4 separate regions of the Homo sapiens genome follow, and regions 2, 3 and 4 are each linked to region 1. Evidence: promoter capture Hi-C in 16 types of primary human blood cells and fetal thymus (Javierre and others, 2016). All regions are on one chromosome and are shown on one strand. Each heading gives the region's core, a stretch centred on a gene start or on the middle of the fragment in contact. The rest is flanking DNA. Distances are from core to core; before and after follow the strand shown.

What was found. The method cuts DNA at HindIII sites, captures the fragments that hold promoters and counts their contacts. A CHiCAGO score of 5 or more calls a contact.
Region 2: a contact is called between a fragment that was not itself captured here and the fragment with the promoter of PTBP3 in region 1, in 1 of 17 cell types (fetal thymus). The highest score is 5.8, in fetal thymus.
Region 3: a contact is called between a fragment that was not itself captured here and the fragment with the promoter of PTBP3 in region 1, in 2 of 17 cell types (neutrophils and fetal thymus). The highest score is 5.9, in neutrophils.
Region 4: a fragment that was not itself captured here is called in contact with the fragment with the promoter of PTBP3 in region 1 in 1 of 17 cell types (non-activated CD4 T cells); the score reaches 5.3 in non-activated CD4 T cells.

Annotation. Positions count from the first base shown.
Region 1 is chr9:112,332,184-112,334,947 of GRCh38, reverse strand. It overlaps PTBP3 (polypyrimidine tract binding protein 3), which reads left to right and starts at 1,329. Exons shown (of 14, transcript NM_001163788.4): 1 at 1,329-1,478. RefSeq lists an enhancer at 285-1,255 and silencers at 1,005-1,324, 1,475-1,964. The HindIII fragment of the contact is 11,957 bases long and covers 1-2,748 here.
Region 2 is chr9:112,791,216-112,793,979 of GRCh38, reverse strand. All of the region lies in intron 1 of SNX30 (sorting nexin family member 30), which reads right to left. Among named protein-coding and RNA genes, the nearest start is that of SNX30, 42 kb to the right of the region's middle. The HindIII fragment of the contact is 5,421 bases long and covers 1-2,764 here.
Region 3 is chr9:111,884,849-111,887,612 of GRCh38, reverse strand. No RefSeq gene overlaps it. Among named protein-coding and RNA genes, the nearest start is that of UGCG, 11 kb to the left of the region's middle. RefSeq lists an enhancer at 488-1,316. The HindIII fragment of the contact is 9,210 bases long and covers 1-2,764 here.
Region 4 is chr9:111,929,873-111,932,636 of GRCh38, reverse strand. It overlaps UGCG (UDP-glucose ceramide glucosyltransferase), which reads right to left. Exons shown (of 9, transcript NM_003358.3): 7 at 1,280-1,366; 8 at 278-467. It overlaps MIR4668 (microRNA 4668), which reads right to left and starts at 537; the gene lies at 468-537. The HindIII fragment of the contact is 6,784 bases long and covers 1-2,764 here.

The DNA.
Region 1 (2,764 bases), core at 80-2,579:
TTTGACATTTTGGAAGGGGACTGAGGTTAGATACAGGACTTTAAGAATTACCTCACCGAATTACTCTACCTATTTGAAAAGTTGTATGTCAAAAATATACATAAACGGACTGAAGAATCCATTCAACAGTGACGGCTGGAACCTGATTTTCTTGTGTATTCATGCAGTGCCCGGCACATAGTAGGTTAATACTGACTGAATGATGAATGAGTCCACAGTTTAGATCTTTTTAGCAGCACCTACTGATCTGAAAGCAGGAAATTAGCAAGGATAGATGTTTGAGGTTCTTGTTAGTTGCTTTTCAAATGACGAAGCCACGGGGAGGAGCCCCGCTCTTTTTTACTCAGTAGGTTAAGAATTTGGCTTAACAGTTTAGGGGGTTACATTTTGGTGATCTGTGAGTTGAAAAAGTACTCAATTTCTCACTAAAAAGGGAAAAAAGCAAGCGTGTTGTCACTCGTTATATTATATATATACTTTTTGCTCAGACCAGAGGGAAGGGCTCTGGTGCAAACGTTTCCTGGTTGTGAAACTGTGAGCAAATCACTCTCTTTGTATATGTATTTTCATCTGAAAAAAGGGAATAATGAGTAAACTTTTAAAAAATGCTGGGAATATAGCCATTCCATGTTTGTACAATGAATTTTTCATATAAATTCAATACTAGACGGTTAGGTCGAAATGCACTCAGATACTTAAATTGTATACAAATTCCAGTCCGGGCAGCCTCTTTCACCTCATTCATCGTCCCAGCCACACCTATGGGGCTGGTGTCGGTCCCAGCGGTCGACTCCAGCGCCGGGCTGCCAGAGGCTGGTCCCTGGACGTGTCATCTACAGCCTCGCGCACCCGGGGCAATTCCACCTCGTTTCTGGGGTCCTTGTGGGACATTCCTTCCTACTCTTGGGAGTCAGGTCCCCATAGCTTTTCCTGCCGGCAGAGGGAGGCATTCAAACCTGGCAGGCCCGGTCTGCGAAGCCGGAAGGCCCGCGGGGCCGCGGGAGGGCGGGCGGGGTGCGCGGCGGAGCGGGAAGCACAAGGCGCGCGCTCCCGCGAACGCAGGAGGGAGGCTGGGGGCGCGCGCGCGCGCCGGGCCGAGGGGCCGAGAGGCGGGGTCTTACAGCGACCGCGGGAAGAGGGCGCCCCAGAGCTGAGCCGGAGGCCGGCTGCCAGCGGGGCGAGGGTGGGCGCGAGCGCAGGGGCGGGCCCCGAGGGAGGGCGGGGACGGTGAGGGGGCGGGGTCGGGCTAGGCGGGGACGCGCTCGCGGGGTGGGGAAGGCGGGGGCGCGGCGGTGGCGGGAGCGTGCCCGGTCCCCGCCCCTGTTCCCACTCTCCTTCCACCTCGGACCGGCCGGGGCTCCGCAGAGCCAAAGCTCGCTTGTCCCCGGAACCGCCCTGCTGCCGCCGCCTGCTTCCTCTGCTCGCGGTTAGCCCGTCAGTCCCTGCTCTGTGCGCGCCTCCATCTGGGCCATGGATGGGTAAGTACTAGGCGGCGCGGCGGCCGCACCGGGTTGCCTTGGCGCCGCTTCCACCCGGCTCTCCGCGGGACGCGTAAGGGCTGGGGAGCAGTGCGCGGCGCCGGCGGCCGGAGGAGCGGCCCCGGCCAAGCCCGACGGCGGGGCTTCCGGGCGTCTCGGTGGGGATCCCGGAATCGCGGAGTTGCCGTCCGCCGCAGGCTCTCCTTTCCCCACGCGGCGCCCCGGACACGTCCGCTGCTTCCTAGCCTTACTCGACACACCCGGGAGCAGAGGAAAGCCCGGTCCGGCCGCGGTGCCGAGGTCCGCCCTCCGCGCCCCGAGTCCGGGGAGCCCAGCTCGGCCTCCCGACACTTCCTCTCAGAAAATGGTGCGCGGCGCTGGGGGAGGCGGAGGCGGCGCGCGGGGCGGGCGTCCTCCTGCCGGGGGAGTTGCTGTTTACCGGCGAGGTGGGGCGAGCGGCCGACGGCGGGTGCACGCGTCGGTACACGTCTGGGCGGCGACCTGGTCGCAAGCCATGGTCCCACGCGGGGTCCCAGGGCCGCCGCGGGACTTGGCCGAGGTCTCCCGACTTGTGCTGTGAGATACGTTAACGCTTTCTCGACACCAGGGGTCTGGACTTAGTGACCATGGACGCTTCCCCCTCACCTTTCTCTCTCCCCAAGAAACTTAATGAATTATCTGCCCGTGTATGTAAAATATGATGTACGAGCGATTTTCGGGGGCATTTCAAATGCTCAAAAATTTAATGGGGGTCCGTGACCAAAATAAAAAGATTTAGAGTCTATGTATATAAACTGTTCTCTGGGGACTCAGGGATATGGGGTGGGACTTGACATATTTTGGTAATTAAAGTAACAACTATGTTAGGATTTTGGTGAATTAATTGAAGGTTGTAGTATCTGTACCTACGGATTAAAAAAAAATCTCCAACTCGGTTTATTCCCATTATGTATTTGAGGTTTTTTTTAGCTTGTTACCTACTTTTGATGACAAGATTTCTGTGAGGTTGTGGAATATATGCAACTTGCTAGAACAGTAAAAGTCGTTCACATGTTGCCATACAGTTGATGATATGCTATTTGAAGATGAAATCTTCCAACAGCTTTTGACCTCATTAGATTTCATTTATTTTAGTTTCACAATATTAAGTGTATATGACATTTCGGATTGATTCATTTGAATGCAGATTGCACACTGCTACAGACATCAAAGTGGAGTTTTAGATTTTATTCATGATTGTGATGTTCTTTATTTTTATTTGATTGAAGCTTCAAAAAATTTCTTAA
Region 2 (2,764 bases), core at 122-2,621, 460 kb before region 1:
CTCAATAACCAGGAAGCGGTCATGTTTGTATGTGTAATGTGACACACTTGTTTAAAAAATTAGAAAGCTAGACCTCTAGATAAACTCAGTGAGTTGAACACAAGCCTCTGCGTTCTCCCTTTTTCCACCCTCCAGATACTAATTTAACCTAGAGAATGAAAGAAAAAAAAAAAAACAAAAAACAGTGGAGGTAAAAAGAACAAGAAAAACAGTGACTGGAGTCATATCAATACTGGAAATGAGGAAAGGGTGCCATCCAAATGCCAAAGGTCTCAAAGGCTGTCTACTGGTTCTACCTGGGCCACAACTGAAAAAAGAACCCAGAGGAATCTAACCCATGTCACCGAAGTTACTTCAGGTTATTGAGGTTACTTAATAAGTAGAAAATGTCCTTGAACCCCCTTTACACGCACGCTAATTTGAAAGTGTGATTGTCAGTGGGGAGTAGAGGACATGGAAGGTTTGGCAGTGGGGCAATCCAGGACCACCAAGGAGTTGGCTGCTGTGACTGTGACCAAGGGGATGCCAAGCACAGGCAAATACACCAAGTGTGGGCCACCAGCAGAGGGCACCCCGCCCACATGGCCTTCTCCCCCCGCATGATGGGTAGAGATGGAAGCAGCAGCTCATAGGAACATGAAGGCATCTGGGTTGGCTGCCCTGGGGTGTGTCCAACAAGCCCAAAGCAGGCCAGACTGCAAATGCTGGGGGGACTGAGCTCTACTGAGATGGGGGGAGCAGCTAAAACACAGAGAAAGCCAGGCTTCTTTCCCATCTGACAGATAACTAGTAATCTATGGATCTAAGACAATGCTAACAACATCAAGTAGAAACACAGAGGATCCAATATAATCCACTTGTTCTGATGGGGGCAAATAGCAGGTCTGAATTATTATCTCATCAGAGGCAAGTAAACCATAAAAACAACTCAAAATGGCATTAGCTCATCACTCAGACCTAAGAAAACCAAAACACAAAAAAAGCAAGAGTCCTCAATAACAGATAAACATGCATTTGAAAAAGATGAAGCCCATAAAACAGAACCCTTTAGGCCAGACTTACTCTGTGTTCCCATTAAAAGAAAAAGAAAAAAAAAAGCCTAAAGAAAGTGGAAAGAGAATCTAAAAATGAAAGCATAAATTAAAACAGAAAAGAACAAAAGTTATAAACAAAAGCAAAATTTAATTCTTCTGAAAGATGAATCAGATAAACTAAAACTTAGGAAATCTGAACAATATAGAAAAAGGAAAATGGCCCAGGTGTAGTGGCCTCAAACCTATAATCCCAGCACTTTGGGAGACCGAGGCAGGTGGATTGCTTGAGCCCAGGAGCTCAAGACCAGCCTGAGCAGCATGGGGAAACCCTGTCTCTAGTAAAAATACAAAAAGTTAGCCAGGCGTGGTGGCTCAAGCCTGTAGTCACAGCTACTCAGGAGGCTGAGGCATGAGAATTGCTTGAACCTAGGAGGCAGAGGTTGCAGTGAGCAGAGATCGCACCATTGTACTCCAGGCTGGGCGACGGAGAGAGATGCTGTCTCAATAAAAAATAAAAAAAGAGGAAAATGGAAAAAGGGAACAGGCAATAACTATTTAGAACTTGTGTCTATGTATGATTGTAAATTAAAAGGTTGTGCTGTGAATAACTATGCCAACAAATTTGGACATCTATATGAGCTAGCTGGCTTTCTAGGAAAAATTATGTGATCAAGGTGAAATTAAATAGAGAGAAAAAACCTAAACAGATAAATAACCACAAAACTGTTGTCAGAGAACATCCACGAAGAGGTAAGCTGGGTCCCAAGTGTTTCACAGTGAGCACTCATGAACCTTCAAAGAGTAAGTCCTACTTTATTCAAATATTCTAAGACATAATTTTAAAATGCAGAAACCTTTCAAATCATTTCATGATGACTATCTATATCCGGTATCAAAATATTAGGACAAAAAAGAAAACTGAGAACAAGCATAAACATCATTAATAAAGTAACAACTAACAGTACACTAAAAGAATTTTTGGAAAAAAAATATATACCAGGATCAAGTCAAATGTATTCCAGGGAAGCAAGAATGATTTAACATTAGGAAATTTATCAATACAATTTATTACATTAATAACATTACTTCATTACACTATATTACATTAATATACATTACTTCAACCACTGTTGAAGATACTCATGTCCAAAACTACCAAAATATTTACTGGCATCACTCATATCAGCCATTCCATTTAAATCTCTAAGTAAAATTAAGAAGTAAAAAGAAAGTTCCCGGCCAGGTGCAGTGGCTCATGCCTGTAATCCCAGTACTTTGAGAGGCCAAGGCGGGTGGATCACGAGGTCAAAGATTGAAACCAGCCTGGCCAACATGGTGAAACCCCATCTCTACTAAAAATACAAAAATTAGCTGGGCGTGGTGGCACACACCTGTAGTCTCAGCTACTTGGGAGACTGAGGCAGGAGAATCGCTTGAACCCAGGAGGCGGAGGTTGCAGTGAGCAGCGCAATTGCGCCACTGCACTCCAGCCTGGCGACAGAGCAAGGCTCCGTCTCAAAAAAAAAAAAAAAAAAAAAAAAAAAAAGTTCCTAAATATGTTTAAAAGTATTTATCAGAAAACATCAGCAATTAATCTTGAAGACATTATTCTAAGTGAACGAAGCTAGATGAGAAAAGCCACATGCTATATAATTCCATTTATATGAAATGTCAGAACAGGCAAATCCTGAGAGACAGAAAGCAGACTTGGTTGCCAGGGGCTACAGGTA
Region 3 (2,764 bases), core at 185-2,684, 450 kb after region 1:
TACACACATGCACACACATATACACATGTACACACATGCATGTACATGCACATACATGCACACATGCATGCACACGTGTGTACACAGGTGTGCATGCGTGTATGCATGCATATATGCACATGCACGTGTGCACGCACATATGCACATACGTATACATACATGTATGCACATACGTATACGTGCATGTGTGCACATACGTATGCGTGCATGTGTGCACATACGTGTGCGTGCATGTGTGCACATACGTGTGCGTGCATGTGTGCACACATGTATACATGAGGTTGGGCACGGTGGCTCATGCGTGTAATCCCAGCACTTTGGGAGGCTGAATCTGGCAGGTTGCATGGGCCCAGGAATTAGAGACCAGGGTGAGCAACATAGTGAAACTCCATCTCTACAAAATATGCAAAACAGCCTGCACCTGTAGTCCCAGATACTCGGGAGGCTGAGGCAGAGATTGCAGTAAGCCGAGATCACGCCACTGCACCCCAGCCTGGGCGACAGAGTGAGATTCTGTCTCAAAATAATAAAATAATAATACAATAAAATATGTGATGTTCCAGGTACACAGTGTTCTCATGCTTTGGATACAAAGTGAAAAATAACATAATCTTTTTTTCCCCCTGGAGAAGTTCAAGTTCAGCTGAGGAAGAGAAATGCAAAAATGTATCATTGTAATGCAATGAGTGTTGATATAGAGGTATGAGAAAAATTGGGAGTTGGGAGTGATTACTTTTATTCCAGAAAATCTAGAAAGACTTCATGGAGAAGGTCATCTGGGTCCTGAAGAAAGACTAAGACATTGCCAAGAGTGAGGAAAGTGCAGCTGGGCACCTATAACCCCAGCATTTTGGGAGGCCGAAGGGGGCAGGTCACTTGAGGCCAGGAGTTCAAGGCCGGGAGTTCAAGACCAGCCTGGCCAACAGGGCAAAAACCCGTCTCTACTAAAAATACAAAAATTAGCTGGGCATAATGGCAAGAGCCTGTAATCCCAGCTACTCGGGAGGCTGAGTCAGGAGAATCACTTGAGCCCAGGAGGCGGAGGTTGCAGTGAGCCGAGATCGCGCCATTGCACTCCAGCCTGGGTGACAGAGCTAGACTCCATCTCAAACAAACAAACAAACAAACAAAACTTGGATGGCCTTGAGAAACAGTTGACCTGGGTTAACTAATAAATTCATTGATCTGTAACTGAAAATCCAGTTATGGGGAGTATGACGTATGAATGACCATCTAAAGCAGGACTCGTTTGAGAAAGGAGACACTATTAACAATCAGGCTAGGAGAAACTGAGGCAGTCACAGAGTCACACCCTATATAAAGCAAACAAGAGTCAGGCACAGTTAAAAAATGGAGTTCTTGCTCCATTTTTCTGAGATAGTCTTGGCTCGCCCCTCCTCTATGTGTCAGTATTTTACTTTACTTTACTTTACTTTTACTTTATTTTATTTTATTTATTTTTGAGAGAGAGTGTCATTCTGTCTTCCAGCCTGGAGTGCAGTGGCAAGATCTTGGCTCACCGCAACCTCTGCCTCCTGGGTTCAGTGATTCTCGTGCTTCAAGCCCCTCGAGTAGCTGGGATTACAGGCGTGTGCCACCACACCCAGCTAATTTTTGTATTTTTAGTAGATACAGGGTTTCACCGTGTTCACCAGGGTGGTCTCAAACTCCTGACCTCAAGTGATCTACCTGCCTTGGCTTCCCAAAGTGCCAAACTTTGCTTCCCAAAGCAGTTTTGTCTTTAAGCTGACCTCGCTCATGGTTGTAAGACAGCTGCCAACAATTATCAGTACTTCACATCCAGGAAGAGAGAGCAAGTGTTAGTTGTGACCTAACAAAAATCTTAAGCCTTTTCATTTTTCTAATGGTTACCCTTGAATACCATTTGTTAGGCTATGGCAAGGCAGACTAGAATAGTCAAATTAGAATTTATTGAAGCTGGTAGTAAGGATAATCCCATCCAAACTGCAAGGTGACTATGTAATGAATGGGGGAGGAATAGAATTGGAAAGATAACCACGATAGCCACCACACTGAGTTTTTCCAAAATGGAAAATTTCTAGGAAGTCTTAAATATGAAAGATTCCCGGTTAGCTCTTCCAGCTTGTTCGTTTTCTAAATAATAGCTTTATTAAGATATAGTCACACACCGTAACATTCACTCCTTTAAAGCATACCACTCAGTGATTTTTAGTATCTTCACAGAGTTGTGCAACCATCACTGCCCAACTTTAGAACATTTTCTCACTGCAAAAAGAAACTCCATACCCATTAGCAGTCATTCCCCATTTCCCCTCCCCCCAGCTCCTGGTAACTACTAATTTAATTTTTTTCTATATAGATTTGCCTATCTTGACTATTTCATAAAAATAGAATTGATGGGCCAGGCACGGTGGCTCATGCCTGTAATCCCAGCACTTTGGGAGGCCGAGGCAGGCGAATCACCTGAGATTGGGAATTCGAGACCAGCCTGACCAACATGGAGAAACCCCATCTCTAGTAAAAATACAAAATTAGCCGGGCATGGTGGCACATGCCTGTAATCCCAGCTACTCGGGAGGCTGAGGCAGAAGAATTGATTGAACCCAGGAGGCGGAGGTTGCAGTGAGCCAAGATCACGCCATTGCACTCCAGCCTGCGCAACAAGAATGAAACTCTGTCTCAAAAAAAAAAAAAAAAAAAGAATTAACATATTATGCAGACTTTTATGACTACCTTCTTTCACAGCATGATATTTTCAAGGTTTATTCATGTCACAGTACAT
Region 4 (2,764 bases), core at 97-2,596, 400 kb after region 1:
GCTATCTTAATGTCTTATTAGTTTCAATACTCACTGATTTAATTAACTTCATGTTTTTGGAAACTTAATAAAAGCGATTATATAACCAATAGAAAGTTGCAAATCGACTTAAGTTTTGCATCAACATTCCACTAGAGAAAGTCATGTTCAAACCCGAGACTAACCTACAATGGGAAGCTGAAGAATGGCTCAGATACATTTCCTTCAACTTTTTCTAAATTGAAATAGTTCTAGTTCCACCAAGGGACTGCCAACCTTTTCATGCCTATCCACATACCTGGACACCCCTGAGTTGAATGTAGTCAAATATAAACCATGCCAGGCAATGACACATGAAAAATACCATAATATCCCATCTGAACACATGGTGGGCTGCCCATCCAATAATTAAACTGGCAACAAAGCATTCTGAAATTGGCTCACAAATTATTGTAGCAGGAAGCATGTTAATTCGTAGTTTGGTCCACCTGGAAAAACAAAAAGGATTTTCTTTAAAACAATATCCTGGCTACAAGACAAATCCTTTTTTTTTTCCCTCAAATAATCAATTTTTTTACCCTGTGATAGAAAGACCATTCTCTTTAAACTTTTTTTGTTTTGTTTTTTTTTTTTTACTTGAGACGGGGTTCTGCTCTGTCACCCAGGCTGGAGTGCAGTGGCACTCACTGTAGCTTCAATCTCCCAGGCTCAAGCGATCTTCCCACCTCATCCCACCAAGTAGCTGGGACCACAGGTGTACACGCCACCACACCTGGCTAATTTTTGCATTTTTTGTAGAGACAGGGTTTCACCATTTTGCCCAGGCTGGTCTCAAACTCCTGGGCTCAAGCAGTCCTCTCGCCTTGGCCTCCCAAAGCGCTGGGATTACAGGTGTGAGCCACCACACACAACCTAAAAATTTTTTTTAATGACTCTCTTTTCTATTTTTGTCTAGGATGTCAAAGAAAAATGTCTTTAAATTCATTTGTATGGCCTACGCTCTGATGAATACAGATAATAAAATTTAATCAGCACAGAAAGTTAGAAAATAAAGATCAGCATATTAAAAAATTCAGTCTCAACATTTCTCTAATGAGTGCTTTCAGTGTTATACAGCAAATAAAATACATTTAGACATTAAATTTATCTTAAACACAGACGTTAAACTCTATTTTCTGCAACTAAACAAAAATCTTCAACCTTTAGGTACATTCATTTAACTACATTAAACCTGTAAAAATTACCACCCCCCTCCCCACTTTCCTTTTAACGAAGTATAAAAAGAAAACAGTTGATTTACCTGATCATTCTGGATTGAAACTGAGAAATTGAATATGAGCCAGAGTTTTGCATTGCAACTTGAGTGGACATTGCAAACCTCCAACCTCTGAAAATTAAGATAATTAGAAAATAAGTTATGATGATGAACACATGCAAGCGTAACTGGTTATGCATTCAGTAATCATTATAAAGACCAGGCAACTGCCGGTATTCAGGGTGAGCCCAGCTTTCATGATTAGCACATGACTTAAGGTCTACCATACGTATGGATGTTTTAGCAATTATGCTGGCCCGTGACAGCACCATCTAAGAACTAGAAGAAACTGTACCCACCTTACTTTACAATTTAAGAAACTTAAAATGCAGTCATTTTGAAAAAAAATGGAGAGGGCTCCATATTTAATAGATTAGTCTCTGATGACTACTAACCAAACAACAAGACATGTAAACAGAAAGTGGCATTATGGATCTCATGGGAGACACTAGGAAACCATGAACCACATGAACACAATCATGACAGAATTTGTATTTAAAACACACTTCAGTTTTTAAAAAATTTAAAAGAATTCTCACACAAGGCAGTGATCTCCTTTAAAAACAAGTATTTTAGGCTGGATGCAGTGGCTCATGCCTGTAATCCCAGCACTTTGGGAGGCTGAGGCGGGCGGATCACGAGGTCAGGAGTTCAAGACTAGCCTGGCCAACATGGTGAAACCCCGCCTCTACTAACATACAAAAAAAAGTAGCTGAGTGTGGCGGCGGGTGCCTATAATCCCAGCTACTTGGGAGGCTGAGGCAGGAGAATCGTTTGAACCCAGGAGGCGGAGACTGCAGTGAGCCGAGATTGCGCCACTGCACTCCAGCCTGGATGTCAGGGCGAGACTGTCTCAAAAAAAAAAAAAAAAACCAAAACAAAACAAGTATTTTGTGATAGAGAAATGCTAAGTCAGTCATATGAATCTTTCAGTGGCTTCTTAGCAAAGTATCATATAATTCACTGACAAATTTCAAATTTTGAAATGATAGTCTTTAAATTTTCACCTACTAGTTTATGACTGCACTGATAGTTTTAATTCTTCTAAAACACAGAAATTTGTATCTATATAGTAAAAATTCTAAACACAGAGAAACTTACTTTTAATCGCTTTAAAACACATTAATTTGAAAAATGTAGAGGAATCAGAACATTTACCTTCTTCATTAGTACATATCTACAATTCTATAATTAGAATATGAATTACTCTATAAAATTATTGATCTGCTGGGTGTGGTGGCTCATACCTGTAATCCCAGCACTTTAGGAGGCCGAGGTGGGCAGATCACTTGAGTTCAGGAGTTCAAGACCAGCCTGGCCAACATGAAGAAACCCCATCTCTACTAAAAATACAAAAATTAGTGTGCATGGTGGTACATGCCTGTAGTCCCAGGTGCTCTGGTGGCTGAGGCATGAGAATCACCTGAACCCGGGAGGCAGAGGCTACAGTGAGCCAAGATCGCGCCACTG